3 separate regions of the Homo sapiens genome follow, and regions 2 and 3 are each linked to region 1. Evidence: promoter capture Hi-C in 16 types of primary human blood cells and fetal thymus (Javierre and others, 2016). All regions are on one chromosome and are shown on one strand. The core of a region is centred on a gene start or on the middle of the fragment in contact, and the rest is flanking DNA. Distances in the headings are between cores, read along the strand shown.

What was found. Contacts are between HindIII fragments. The CHiCAGO score rates a contact against its expected background, and 5 or more counts as called.
Region 2: a contact is called between a fragment that was not itself captured here and the fragment with the promoter of VEZF1 in region 1, in 9 of 17 cell types (neutrophils, megakaryocytes, monocytes and 6 more). The highest score is 15.0, in neutrophils.
Region 3: a contact is called between a fragment that was not itself captured here and the fragment with the promoter of VEZF1 in region 1, in 3 of 17 cell types (neutrophils, megakaryocytes and endothelial precursors). The highest score is 7.6, in neutrophils.

The regions. Positions count from the first base shown.
Region 1 is chr17:57,986,930-57,990,672 of GRCh38, reverse strand. It overlaps VEZF1 (vascular endothelial zinc finger 1), which reads left to right and starts at 2,419. Exons shown (of 6, transcript NM_007146.3): 1 at 2,419-2,594. The coding sequence starts at 2,562. It overlaps LOC101929185 (a long non-coding RNA gene), which reads right to left and starts at 2,563. Exons shown (of 1, transcript XR_001752716.3): 1 at 1-2,563. It also overlaps a transcript of SRSF1 not described here. RefSeq lists enhancers at 1,817-1,956, 1,977-2,026 and silencers at 2,177-2,456, 2,527-3,006, 3,087-3,156. The HindIII fragment of the contact is 4,468 bases long and covers 573-3,743 here.
Region 2 is chr17:57,891,436-57,895,431 of GRCh38, reverse strand. All of the region lies in intron 1 of CUEDC1 (CUE domain containing 1), which reads left to right. Among named protein-coding and RNA genes, the nearest start is that of CUEDC1-AS1, 19 kb to the left of the region's middle. RefSeq lists enhancers at 2,413-2,462, 2,123-2,864. The HindIII fragment of the contact is 9,384 bases long and covers 1-3,996 here.
Region 3 is chr17:57,873,024-57,876,698 of GRCh38, reverse strand. It overlaps CUEDC1 (CUE domain containing 1), which reads left to right. Exons shown (of 11, transcript NM_001271875.2): 4 at 2,982-3,108. Among named protein-coding and RNA genes, the nearest start is that of MRPS23, 25 kb to the right of the region's middle. RefSeq lists enhancers at 1-369, 370-1,011, 1,653-2,294, 2,295-2,935. The HindIII fragment of the contact is 8,375 bases long and covers 1-3,675 here.

The sequences.
Region 1 (3,743 bases), core at 1,170-3,669:
CATCTGTCTTTTGACTGGACCCCAGTATATAGTCTGTGGAAGCTCACTTAAGGAGAGAGCTCCTTTTTGTTTGGTTAGAGAAATTTTCTGTCCTAAAAGTAGAAATAGCCCCTTCTAGGTAAGGATGGAGCATTTGATCATACTGGTTTCATTATATTCCTCTAACAGTTGGAACCGATTGTTTTTGAGTACTTGTTTCAAACTTCTGAGTATTTTCCTTCTGGAAAATAGCTCAGTGTTTAAAATTTACATGAACTTAAAAGGTTAATTTTTTTTTAAAGAATGTTTGAGGAGCAATCAATTCTGATTTTGTCTTATGGATAGAAATAGAATTAGCCATTTTCCTCAAGAAAAGTGATTCTTCTGAATCTTAGCTTTTCAGTAATGAGAACTGGACTGTTTCCACTTGACCTCTATTTCCTGTTAGTGGGAAACCGCTTCCCAGAGGTGCTGTGTGAAAGATTGCTGGGGAAAGGGTTTCTAGATCCCAGCATAACAAGTTCAAGAGTCCAGCGATATTGTCATTAGAATAATGGTCTTCATTAAGTACTAGTTTTCATAATCCTGAAGCTTCATTTTCACCAATTTGAAAGGCAGCTAGGGAGGAGAAGACTATGCAGGGAAGGAGGAAAACTCTGGAGTGCATCACAGAGACCTTGAGTGAGTTAAGGCAGGGAAGAAGCAGATTTGCTATCCACTGAATGAAAATAAGAAGAATTCCATTGTCCAAGGTCAGAGCAAGAACACAAAGGTTTTAGTTTACTTAGTTAATTCCTTAGGTTTGGACATTACAGGAGACATGGGGGTGACCATAGCAATTTAGCTGATAAATGTATCAGAAACTCTTTCATCATTTTCTGTCCCCTCCTATCTTAGGCTGACCGGTTCCCTGATGTGTTACCTGCTTCTGCTACTGATCCAAACTGCAGAACTTCTCATTCATCCCCAAGGCCTCCAGGCAGTATCCAATGGGGAATCAGCTCTAAAAGGAACCAGACCAACGTTTTCCAGCCCCTTCATTCTGGTGACTGAGGGGAGGAAAGAATGGGAGGGGGTATTCTTGTCTAGTGGATGGAAAGGAAACACACTGTCAAATTACTATATCTCCTTGGTTTTCTATTACAGTAGAATTCTCCAGCCATATTTTTATTGTCTATGGGGGAAGTTGGAGATGGTGACCTTGATTAGAAGTGTCTGGAGGGGGATAAATGGAGGGGATAAGATTCAGTTGGTTTTGGAAAATGTTAAAGTCTTAAAATAATGCGTCCATCTGAAGAATTTTTTCTAAAACCAGAGTTTATAAAAATATCACTGATACAGCCTGCCCCCTCATTTCCCTGCCACAGGAGATGTCTTGGACTAGAGACACTTGTTTAATAATAGCTTGTCTCTGATATTCCCAGTAGCTTCCCTCTGTGTGAGGAAAGGATAGAAATGTTCAGGACATCATCATACAGGCTCCTCATCTACAAAGTTCCAGTAGCAGTGACGCCTACACGGAAGACTTGGAACTGCAAACAGGCTGGGGTCACCTCAGTGACATCTGACGCTGTCCAACCAGAAGTTCGATTTTTGTTCTGGGGGTGAAGGAGGAAACAGACTGTACTAAAGGACTAAAATAATTTGTCTATACTATCTCACTTGTTTTTATTTTTGGCGGGAGAGGAGGGGTGTTGGGATAGAATTTCACATCCTATCTTGGAGTGAAGGGGAGGATGGGGAGGCTCAGCCCTTCACCCAAGAATAACCCAGTAATGACATCTCTACGCGTGGGAAGTGTTTCCCTCCACACTGAGAGGATCTGAGGCTGCACCCCAGTGGGATTCCCTGCTTGAGTTGGAAGGCCATCTCGCCATGAGATGCATATCATAGCGAGAGCGCAGAGGGCTTAGCCGGCCGGGGAGGAAATGCCAAAAGGAAGAGAGGCTCGAAGTCGAAAGGGCTTCCCCCAGTTTGGAGGTGGGGACCATGCTGTGCATGAGCGACTGAAGAGCCGAGTGTCCGCCGTGGCCTGTGCCCTCCGCTGAGGGTCTAACAGGGACGCGACGGTGCTGGACACCGTGTCTGAGTCACGGGAGACGGCCCAGCTGTGCCCAGCGGGCCAGCGCCAGACCCTGGCGTCCTCCATCTTCTCTCCTGAGCTCCCCCTGCTCCAGCTGCCTGAGCCACGGACCGCAGCACCACACACCCCCGCGGGGGGGGACGCCGCGCCCCATCCCCGCCCCGGGCCCCACCCCAGCCCCCCCGCGGGGGCCCTGACCCCACCGCCAGCGGGCACTGGCTGAGCTCCGAGGCGGCGAGCCGGCAGCGGGGACGCCCAGAGGGGGTCCGGGCGACTGGGGGCGGCGGCGGCCGGGCCGGGGCTCCCCCCCCGCCCGCGCTCGCCGCCGCGGTGGTGCGTCCCGGAGGTTACCGGAAGTGGCCGCGCTCGGCGCTGCCATGTTGAGGAGCCGCCGCTGCCGTTGCCGCCGCCGCCGCCGCCGCTTTGTTGTCGCCTCCTCCGGCTGAGGAGGCTCCCCGAGCGGGGGGAGTGGGGAGGAGGGGGGTCGGCCGCCGCAGCCATGGAGGCCAACTGGACCGCGTTCCTGTTCCAGGTACTGGGGGCCCCCCCGGGGGGGCACGGGGGGGACAGGGGGGCCGGGCCCCGGGCTGGCGGGCGGGCGGGCGCTCCTCCTCCCCTCCCTCCCGGCTCCGCTCTCCGGCCCGGCCTTAATCCCCCTTTGTTTTTCCGCCCGCCCGCCCCGGCGAAGCGGGGCTGCTGAGGTGAAAGGAGGCGGCCTCACGGGGTGCGGGGGAGATAGCAGGCCGCGGGGTGAACCCGGGGGCCCCCCAGCACACACACGCACACACACACACTCACACACACCCTTCCCTCTCGCTCTGAAGGGGAAGGGAGGAGGCCGGTCGCTGTCACCACCCCGCGGCCCAGAGAAAGGAGGGCGCCGGGCCGCTGGATAGCGCGGGCTGCTGGGCCATTGCGTGCCGGCCCGGTCCCCCACGGTGGGGTGAGGAGGTCCCCAGGTCCTGCCCTGAGTCTCCTCCCCGCCACTTCATCCATCTTTCGCTTGTTCTCTTTTCACCTTCCTCGTCTTTTTGTGTGTGTGCGTGCGTGTGTTGACTTTCTGACCCCCTCCCGTGTCCCCGCGAATAGCGGGTATCCCCAGGTTCCCCGCCACTCCCCCTCACCGCCACCACCCCTCTCGTGTTTACCCAGTTGGGGGGGCGGATGTTGTGAGTGTGTATCCCCTCCCCAAACTTTTTCACTGGATTTACATTTTTTTTTCCCAAGTCTCAGCCGAGCCTTGGCAGCTGACACCTTCTCCCTCTGTCCAGCTCTCCCGCCGTCCCATTCAGCCTGGGGAATCCCCCAGCCGGGCCGGCCCGGGGCAGGCGGGGAGCGGTGGGGGCCGGGACTCCTGGAGGCCCGACCTTCTCCCGAAGCGCTTTTCTTTCTCGCCCACCTCGAACGTTTCCTCCAACCAAGTGGAGAGAGCAAACAAAGTCCGCTTACAAAGCCCCCAGATGAGTCACTCTCTGGGATGTTGGTCTTCGCTTTTTTGCAAGAAACTTGAAAGTGACTGTAGCCGATGTGTTTTGGCAATTCTCTTGCCCGCCCACTTTAGATGGGGGACCCCTGTTTGGCAGATCTAGGCTGGAACTTATTTTTTTCCTACTTCGTTTCTGTTTGCAAAACGAAGCATTCAGTGGGCAGTAGCGATGAGCTCACGGGGAAACTTCGGAAC
Region 2 (3,996 bases), core at 1-2,500, 94 kb after region 1:
CCAGTGGCACCCAGGCACCCCCAGCCTCTCCAGGGGCAACCCTGTCCTTTAGTATTCAATTTAACTCACAGTTATTGAGTTCTTGCTGTGTGCCCAGCTCTGTGCTAGGCTCTAGGGAATATGGAATGGTGATCAAGCCCAATGGATACAGAGTGTTAAATCTGGAATCGGACCTTCTGGGTTCAAATTTCAGCTTGGCCACTTAGCTGTGTGACCTTGAACAAGTTACTCAACCCTTCTACGCCTCATTTTTCTACTATGAAGTGGAAATAGCAGTAGTAATATGCACCTTGTAGAGCTGTAGGGAGGATGAAGAGAGTTAACATGCAATAAGGCACTTTGAGTAGTGGCTAGCATATAAGGAAGCAGGCAATAAGTGTTATCTATTCTCATTATGACTATTATGACCATTATCTTGCTAAGATGAACCAAACAAATGACATGTTTCTCTGCTGAGAAGCCTCATCTTGGATCTTTTTCACTAGAAGGCAGAATTGGCTTCTTGATGGTGCCTTTTGTGGCAGCCACACCTGATATTTGGGCCTCAGGAGCAGAGATGAATGATGATGTCCTTAGGACTGAGGCTCTGGGACCAATTTGTCCACAAGGGACCTCATTCACCTTCTCTGAAACCTCTTGCCCTCGTCCCTGCCCCACATCTCCCATTGGCTACAGACTTGGCCACAAGTGTTGAGGCAGGAGAGAGAAAAATTAGAAAAGAAAAGGTCTTTTTTGAATCGTATTTTTTCTTTTGATTTTTTTTTGAGACAGAGTCTCACTCTTGCTCAGGCTGGAGTACAGTGGTGTGATCTTGGCTCACTGCAACCTCTGCCTCCTGGTTCAAGTGATTCAAGTGCCTCAGCCTCCCAAGTAGCTGGGATTACAGGCATGCGCCACCACACTGGGCTAATTTTTGTATTTTCAGTAGAGACAGGGTTTTACCATGTTGGCCAGGCTGGTCTCAAACTCCTGACCTCAGATGATCTGCCCGCCTCGGCCTCCCAAAGTGCTGGGATTACAGGCATGAGCCACCAAGCCTGGCCTTTCTTCTGATTTTTAAAGATTAAAAACAATTTTTAAAGGAATGCCCCACCCTTACAGATCTAAGTGATAGGGGTGGGGGTGGCCAAGGCATCATGCCATGCCCAGCCTGCACAGCTCATGGAGTAGCCTTTGGAAGGCAGGGGCTGCCCCCAGCCTCACCCCTGCCGGCAGCTCTGCTGTGTGGGCATGGAAACCAGGTGTCCTGCTTCTCTGGGTGGCAGTGGGGCTTCTTCCTGGCAAAGAGGTTTAGGAGTCCTTTTATCAAATCCTCATGGTTTGGTTTTGTTTTGTTTTTGAGACGGAGTCTTGCTCTGTCACCCAGGCTGGAGTGCAGTGGTACGATCTTGGCTCACTGCAACCTCCACCTCCCAGGTTCAAGCAATTCTCTGCCTCAGCCTCCCGAGTAGCTGGAATTACAGGCACCCACCACCATGCCTGGCTAATTTTTGTATTTTTAGTAGAGACGGTGTTTCACCATTTTGGCCAGGCTGGTCTTGAACTCCTGATCTCGTGATCCACCTGCCTTGGCCTCCCAAAGTGCTGGGATTACAGGCGTGAGCCACTGTGCCCTGCCAAATTCTCGTGTTTTACAGATGTAGAAGAGATGAGTGGTCCAGAGAAGTACCCAAGGTCACACAGCAGCGCATGACAGCATTGTCTGTCTCTCCCCTGCTCCTCCTCCTCCTCCCCTAAGGTCCAGTGGCCTCTTTTCTCCAATGGCTGTGCCCGAGGGTCCTCTTTGCCCTTCCTGGCTGCCTGGGGGTGGGCACAGGTGTGGCTGCCCAGCAGCTCTGGGGGCCTCGGGAATGAGGCTGGCTTTGTTGCAGCCCCGGCAGCTGTGGCCATTTGGGTCGAGTTTCCATTAAGCCTTTTCCGAGCCTTGGGCAGGAGCAGGAGGCTCAGCGTTTAAAGGTCACCCGGCTTTTGAAGCTGCAGCGACATTAATAGCTTGGGAAGAAAACAAGCCTTTGCAGGGGCAGGAGGACAAGGCGTCTCTGTCAGGGCTGCCTGAAACACACACACACACACACACACACATACCCTGAGAGCCTCTGTCTCTTGCTCTCCTCTTCCCTTCCTTTCACCCCCTTTTGGGGCCTCTTCAGCTCTGAAGCCAAGAAGCTCAGGCAGATTTCCCTGCACCCCACCCGCTCTGAGGTGACAATTGGCCGAGAATGCAGCTGCCCCAGCCCAGCAGCCTCTGCCATTACACACTTGAGGTTTCCGCAGGACTCAACCATGGTTACACAAGCCTCCCAGGGTCATATGACCTCATTCTGGCCCCACTGGCTTTTGCAGCCTGGATTCCCAATGAGACAGAGTGAGCCTGGCCTGCGTGTCCTCATACGGGAAATGAGAGCGCTGGCAAGTGGCTTGTCTTGCATGCCAGTTCTAATCACTTGGTCGTGGCTTGCACAGAGGCGGTGTTGCAAAGGGTTCTGAGGTTGTGTGTGTTCTGTAGGACAGTAATACCTGGGTGGATTAGTGATGTCTGCCAAGGATGAGGGCTAGAAGGTGGTGGCACATGTGCCAAAGATTTCCTGCCTAGGATTAAATGATTTGACAACTCTGCGGGTCTTGGGTGCTAAGACCCCTGAGGCAACTGGGTGGTTCTTCTCCCTTTTAATCAGGCCAAGGGTGGGGGTGGGGCACATTCTTGGGTTCTGAGAGAAAAGCCACTCTGGCCCTTTCCCTGGGAGCTGCCAGGGCCTGAGCTCTGGGACACCACCTAGTGGCCTGGCTTGGCAGCGCCACTGGGCTGTGCCAGATCTTAGGCAAGAAGCAAATCCCTCTGCAGGCAGGCATCACGGCAGTCACAGATGGACGTAGGGTCTGCTCCTTGGTGATTTTCAGAGGAGGGAGCCTGGGGTGCACAGAGACAGAGCTGGTCTGAGGAGTCTTACCCTCCTTCCAGAAGAGTGGCCTCTGGGTGGGACACAGGAAGGTGCTGGCAATTGGGACCTGTGGCTTCCTGTTCTAACTCCCACCTTTCAGGGTTGGGCCCTGGTCCTCCTGGGGGGCAGAATGGAAGGTCAAGTCAGATCTAGGAGGGGGTTAGCCTCCTGCCCCCTGGTGCTGGCACTGGCTTGGAAAGGGGCAGCCTGCCATCAGCCTTGTGTCCACGTCACTGGGCTGCCTTGGCCTCAGACCCCTTGTCTGTGAAGTGAGATAATAACGCATTCCCTTATATATCTTCTAGGTTTGTTGTGAGGAGTAAATGAGTGTGTAGGGGAGAGAGGGCTTTGGAAACTGAAAAGGCCCCCTCCCATCATTGCTGTGAGCCGGAGGAGGAAGGAAAGGGAGGGAAATCCACAGTTACAGCACTCCTCCATCTTTCCTTCCCTTCTTTACTCATTCGCCTAATAAATGTCTATTGACCATGCCAGGCACTGATTCGGGCACTGGGGATACCACAGTGAGTATAGCAAAGCCCCTGCCTTCATGGAGCTTACATTCTAGTGGAGAAGATATCAGTGACAAATGTATAATATTCAAGGTGGTCTGTTTCATGAAGAAGACAGGGAAGCCTAAAGGGTTAGGAACACTGGGATGTTGGGGGGTGGACTTGCCACTCTGTTCCCCCTCAAGGTGATGGTTGAGTAGGGACCAGAAGGAAGGGAGCCATGCAGATATGTGGGAGCAGAACGTAGCAGTTGGTGGAAAAAGTAAGTTCAGAGGCCCCTGGGTGGGAGTGTGCTTGGCTCGTTGGTGGACTAGCAAGGATCCAGGTGGCCACAGAGAGTTAGGCTCTGTCTGTATGTGTGCGTGCACATATGACAGCGAGGTGACATGGGCAGGACCATGTGGGTTGGCCACGGTAAAGCTCTGGGTATTCTGGGGACATGGGAGCCATTGGGAGGCATGGAGCAGAGGAAGGGCATGACCCCTGTGATGAGGGGTCTCTAGGCCAACACGTGGGAGGCAGGGAGCTAGGGAGGGTATGGTAGCTGT
Region 3 (3,675 bases), core at 658-3,157, 110 kb after region 1:
TGGGCCTCTAGGCCATCTCCAGTGCCTTGTCCAGTCCCTCCATCCAGGACATTCATTTCCAGCATTTACTGATTGCCTGCCATACGCAGGTGCTGAGCCATGTGTATGATGAGGTGGTGAGTACAGCACTCCTGAACTATGTGTGTGAACCACGTGCTGAGCCATGTGTGTGATGTGGAGGTGAATACGGTGCTGCCTGTTTGCCCACACACTGCCAAGGAGATCAGGGTCTAGGGAAGCCGAAGACACGGGGGCAGGGAAGGCTGCCAGGAGAAACTGATGTCCAGGCTGTGACCTGAAGGCCACATTGGCAGTAATGTGGAGAAGCAGAGGACAGGGAGGCGCTCAGGCAAAGGAAGGAGCACTTGCAGAGGCCTGGAGGCAGGAAAGAGGGCTCATCTGGAGACCTCCTGGAAGTACCTAACGGCGGGTGAGGCTGGAAAGGCAAGCAGATCAAAGGCCCTGTGGCCCTCCAGGGAGCTTCCGTCTTCTCTTGCAGACAGCGGGGAGCCATTCAAGGGCCTTAACCTGGAGAGCGACACGATCAGGTTCGTGTTTTAGGAATCTTCCTTTGGCTGCTGAGGGAGATCAGATTTGAGTGGGGGAATGGCCTGGCCCCCATCTGCTACCTCCAGTCACTGGGGTGCCGAGAACCTGCAGATGGGGCAGAGTTTGGGAGCGTGGGTATTGGCCTCCTAGGGCACAGAGAGGCAGGGCCACCCCGGGGAGCATGCTTCAAATGTCACAATCCCTGGGCCCAGGTTTTGCCTGGATGATGTGTGTGTCCTGGGACATGGCTTGAACCCCCTCTGGACCTCAATGTCCAGTTCTTACCAAAAATTTTACCTGGAAGTCCTGAGTCTGAAATCCCTTTCCATCAGGTCTGATGTTCCATGGGTAAACCTGGGGGTCCGATGGGGCTTGAAGTTGCAGTTTTGGGGTCCAGAGGCAGAGGCTCTGGGCTGGGAAATCCTCCCCAGCTTCTCCCTCCTTCCCCTCCCCCAGTCTGTCCTTCCCTCCATCTGTCTGAAAGACAGTCTCTGAAACCCCGGGGACCCTTCCACACAGGCCGCCTGCTGTTTTTCCGTTAAAATTACAGCCTTGGAAGTTTTTTTTTTTATTTGCGTCTCAGCTCATTTCTGACATTCCTTTCCGACCACAATGGAGTTGCCTGGGCTGCCTGTGCCCTGGCTCACGCAGCTGTGGGCTGACCTCATCTCTACCAGTGCCAGCCAAGGGGCCGGGAGGGGGCTGGGCCTGGCCTTCCTTCAGGACCACAGGCCTAGCAGCAAGGAAACTCAGCTGAGAACAGGGGCCTCCTCCACCTTGTGCCCTTCTCCACTTGGAGTCTTCATGGCTAGAGGGGTCCAGGTGCACCTCTGAGGTTCTCCCTCCACTGCTTTCCTGGGTGGCTCCGAGGTGTGGTTAAATTGGGGGTGGGCACCCATGTCCCAGATGAAGACCCTGAGACCTCAAGAACTGGTAATACCCCTGGCGAGGGTCCCTCCCTGCTGTAGCCTGGGGTGGTCTGCGAGTCCCTTAGAGATGAGGCTTCCTCTCTCCCCATCTCTGGCCTTTGGAGAAAAATGAAGCCTCCAACAGTGACAGAAGGTGGCAGTGATGTAGAAAAAAATTTGGCCTAGGAATGGGAGTCCCGGGTTGTGATGCAAGCTGCTCTCCAGACCATTCCCTCTCCCCCTGTGTCTGTGCAGGGAGAGGGTGGACGAGGCGTGCTGGGGTTCCCTTGGCTCCAGTCTGCAAGAGCTGAGCTCCCACCAGGCACTTAGCAGCTGGTTATCCCTTCTGCTGCCGCCCCCGCCCCTTCCCCTCGCCCCCGCCGCCGGCCACCCGCCCGAAATAGAAAAGGAAAGGAAGTTATTTCCATAGTCAGCGGCAGCCCGGAAAAGCTCCCCTCCAGTGAGGGGGCGGGCGGGATTCCTAGAGCTGAAGACCAAATCAAAGCCAGGCCCGAGAGCTAGAGCAGCCCCCACCGCCCGGCCCTCGGCTGCCTTCTCAGTGTGCCGTTTTCCTGATTCAGCGGAACACGTGTCCTGCGGTTGCCACGCTGCAGGCTGCCATGGAGCTGTGGGGACCTCCTGGCCGGGCTCCGAGCTGCCCTCAGGCCCAGGGCGGTAGGGCGGGAGCCTGGGGGTCAGGGAGGGTGTGTGCCACCCCCTCTTCCTCTACTGCCTTGCCCAGCTGTTGGCTCTGCCATGGCACAGAGCTCCTGCCACACACACAACGGGCCTGGAAAGAGCGGCCCCAGAGCACCCTGAGAGCGAGATCCCTTCCACACTCACATCTCCACGCACGTTTTCAGAACATTGCTCAGGACACGGCCTCCTGAGGGGCTCCCCAGCACCTGGGCAGGGAGGCAGCAGTTTCTAGATAAGGAAACCGAGCCCTAGAGGGAACAGGGGCCCACCTAAGACTACCCTGCCGGCTGGTGGTTGAGCCAGAACTGGAGCTCAGATCTGCTTTACCCTCTGTAGGGATCCTGGCGTCCCCATATGCCCCTTCCTCAGCAAACCAGCATGCAGCAGGCTGTGCTGTTGGTGGCTTATGTGTCTGTTCCTTTGGACCATACCTGTCACTCAGCACCATGAGCCTGGCACTGTGTAGGTGCTAGGATAGAAGCATGAAAGGATGCGATCCCTGCTGTCTTTAGGGGACATTTGTAAACATCTATGGCTAAATCCACAGAGTTCCACATGTGCACCGTGGACAGACAGCTCTGTAGGTCCAGAGACCTGGAAGGGCACTGAGTGACTGGAGAGCATGAATGGCTGGGGAGTTCGCTGAGGCTGGTGGAGACATCTCCAGTGATGAGACAGAGTGACGGGCCTTTGTTCTGGAGGCAGTGGAGGCCATGGGAATCTCTGAGCAGGATCCGACCTGCCTGAGGACCTGGTGTGATGGGGCCAGGAGACCTGGGGTTGGGCTTAATGACTTCCTCTTCCCTGTCACCTGCCATCCCCTAGTATCGACGCGCTGGGCTCTGGAGCCCCTACAAGCCAGAGACGCTATCGGAACTGGAACCCACCACTGCTGGGCAACCTTCCGGATGACTTTCTCCGCATCCTGCCCCAGCAGCTGGACAGCATACAGGTAACAGGGGCCGCCCCCGCCTTCCACTCCCACCTGCTTGTCCAGCATCTCTCTTTGCCCACACAATTTGTGCCAGCCAGTTTTACTTCCTGATGTTTAAACCCAGGCTGAGCTATTTCTGTTGCCCTGGGTTCGTAGGGCAGGAATGCTGAACTGAAAGCCTCACTTCCTGCCTGGGCCTGGAGGTTTCCTGTTCTATCCAGGGAAGGTGACAGCCTAAGGAGGCTGTCTGCTGCAGCAGTCACCTCAGGCTGGAGAGAGGCGGGCATGGGGTGGCCAATGGTGGAGGGCCAGAGCACCCCCCTTCCTCCCTTGGGAAAGGGCCAGAGGCTGCTTCTTGCTAGATGTTGGCATGCCCCAAGGTGCCCCACAGCGGGGCAGGTCCACCCTGAGGCTGCTGGTGCAGGGAGAGGGTTGAGTTTGGGAATTGACGTATAGGCTGTTCCACAGTCTGCAGATTTGTTTTCAGGACTGTTCAGGTTGTAGATGAAGGTATGAGGTGGTCTGTGGCGTGGGGGAAAAATAGTTTTTAGGCTACTGCTGTGTCCCCTGCAGCAATGGCTCTGA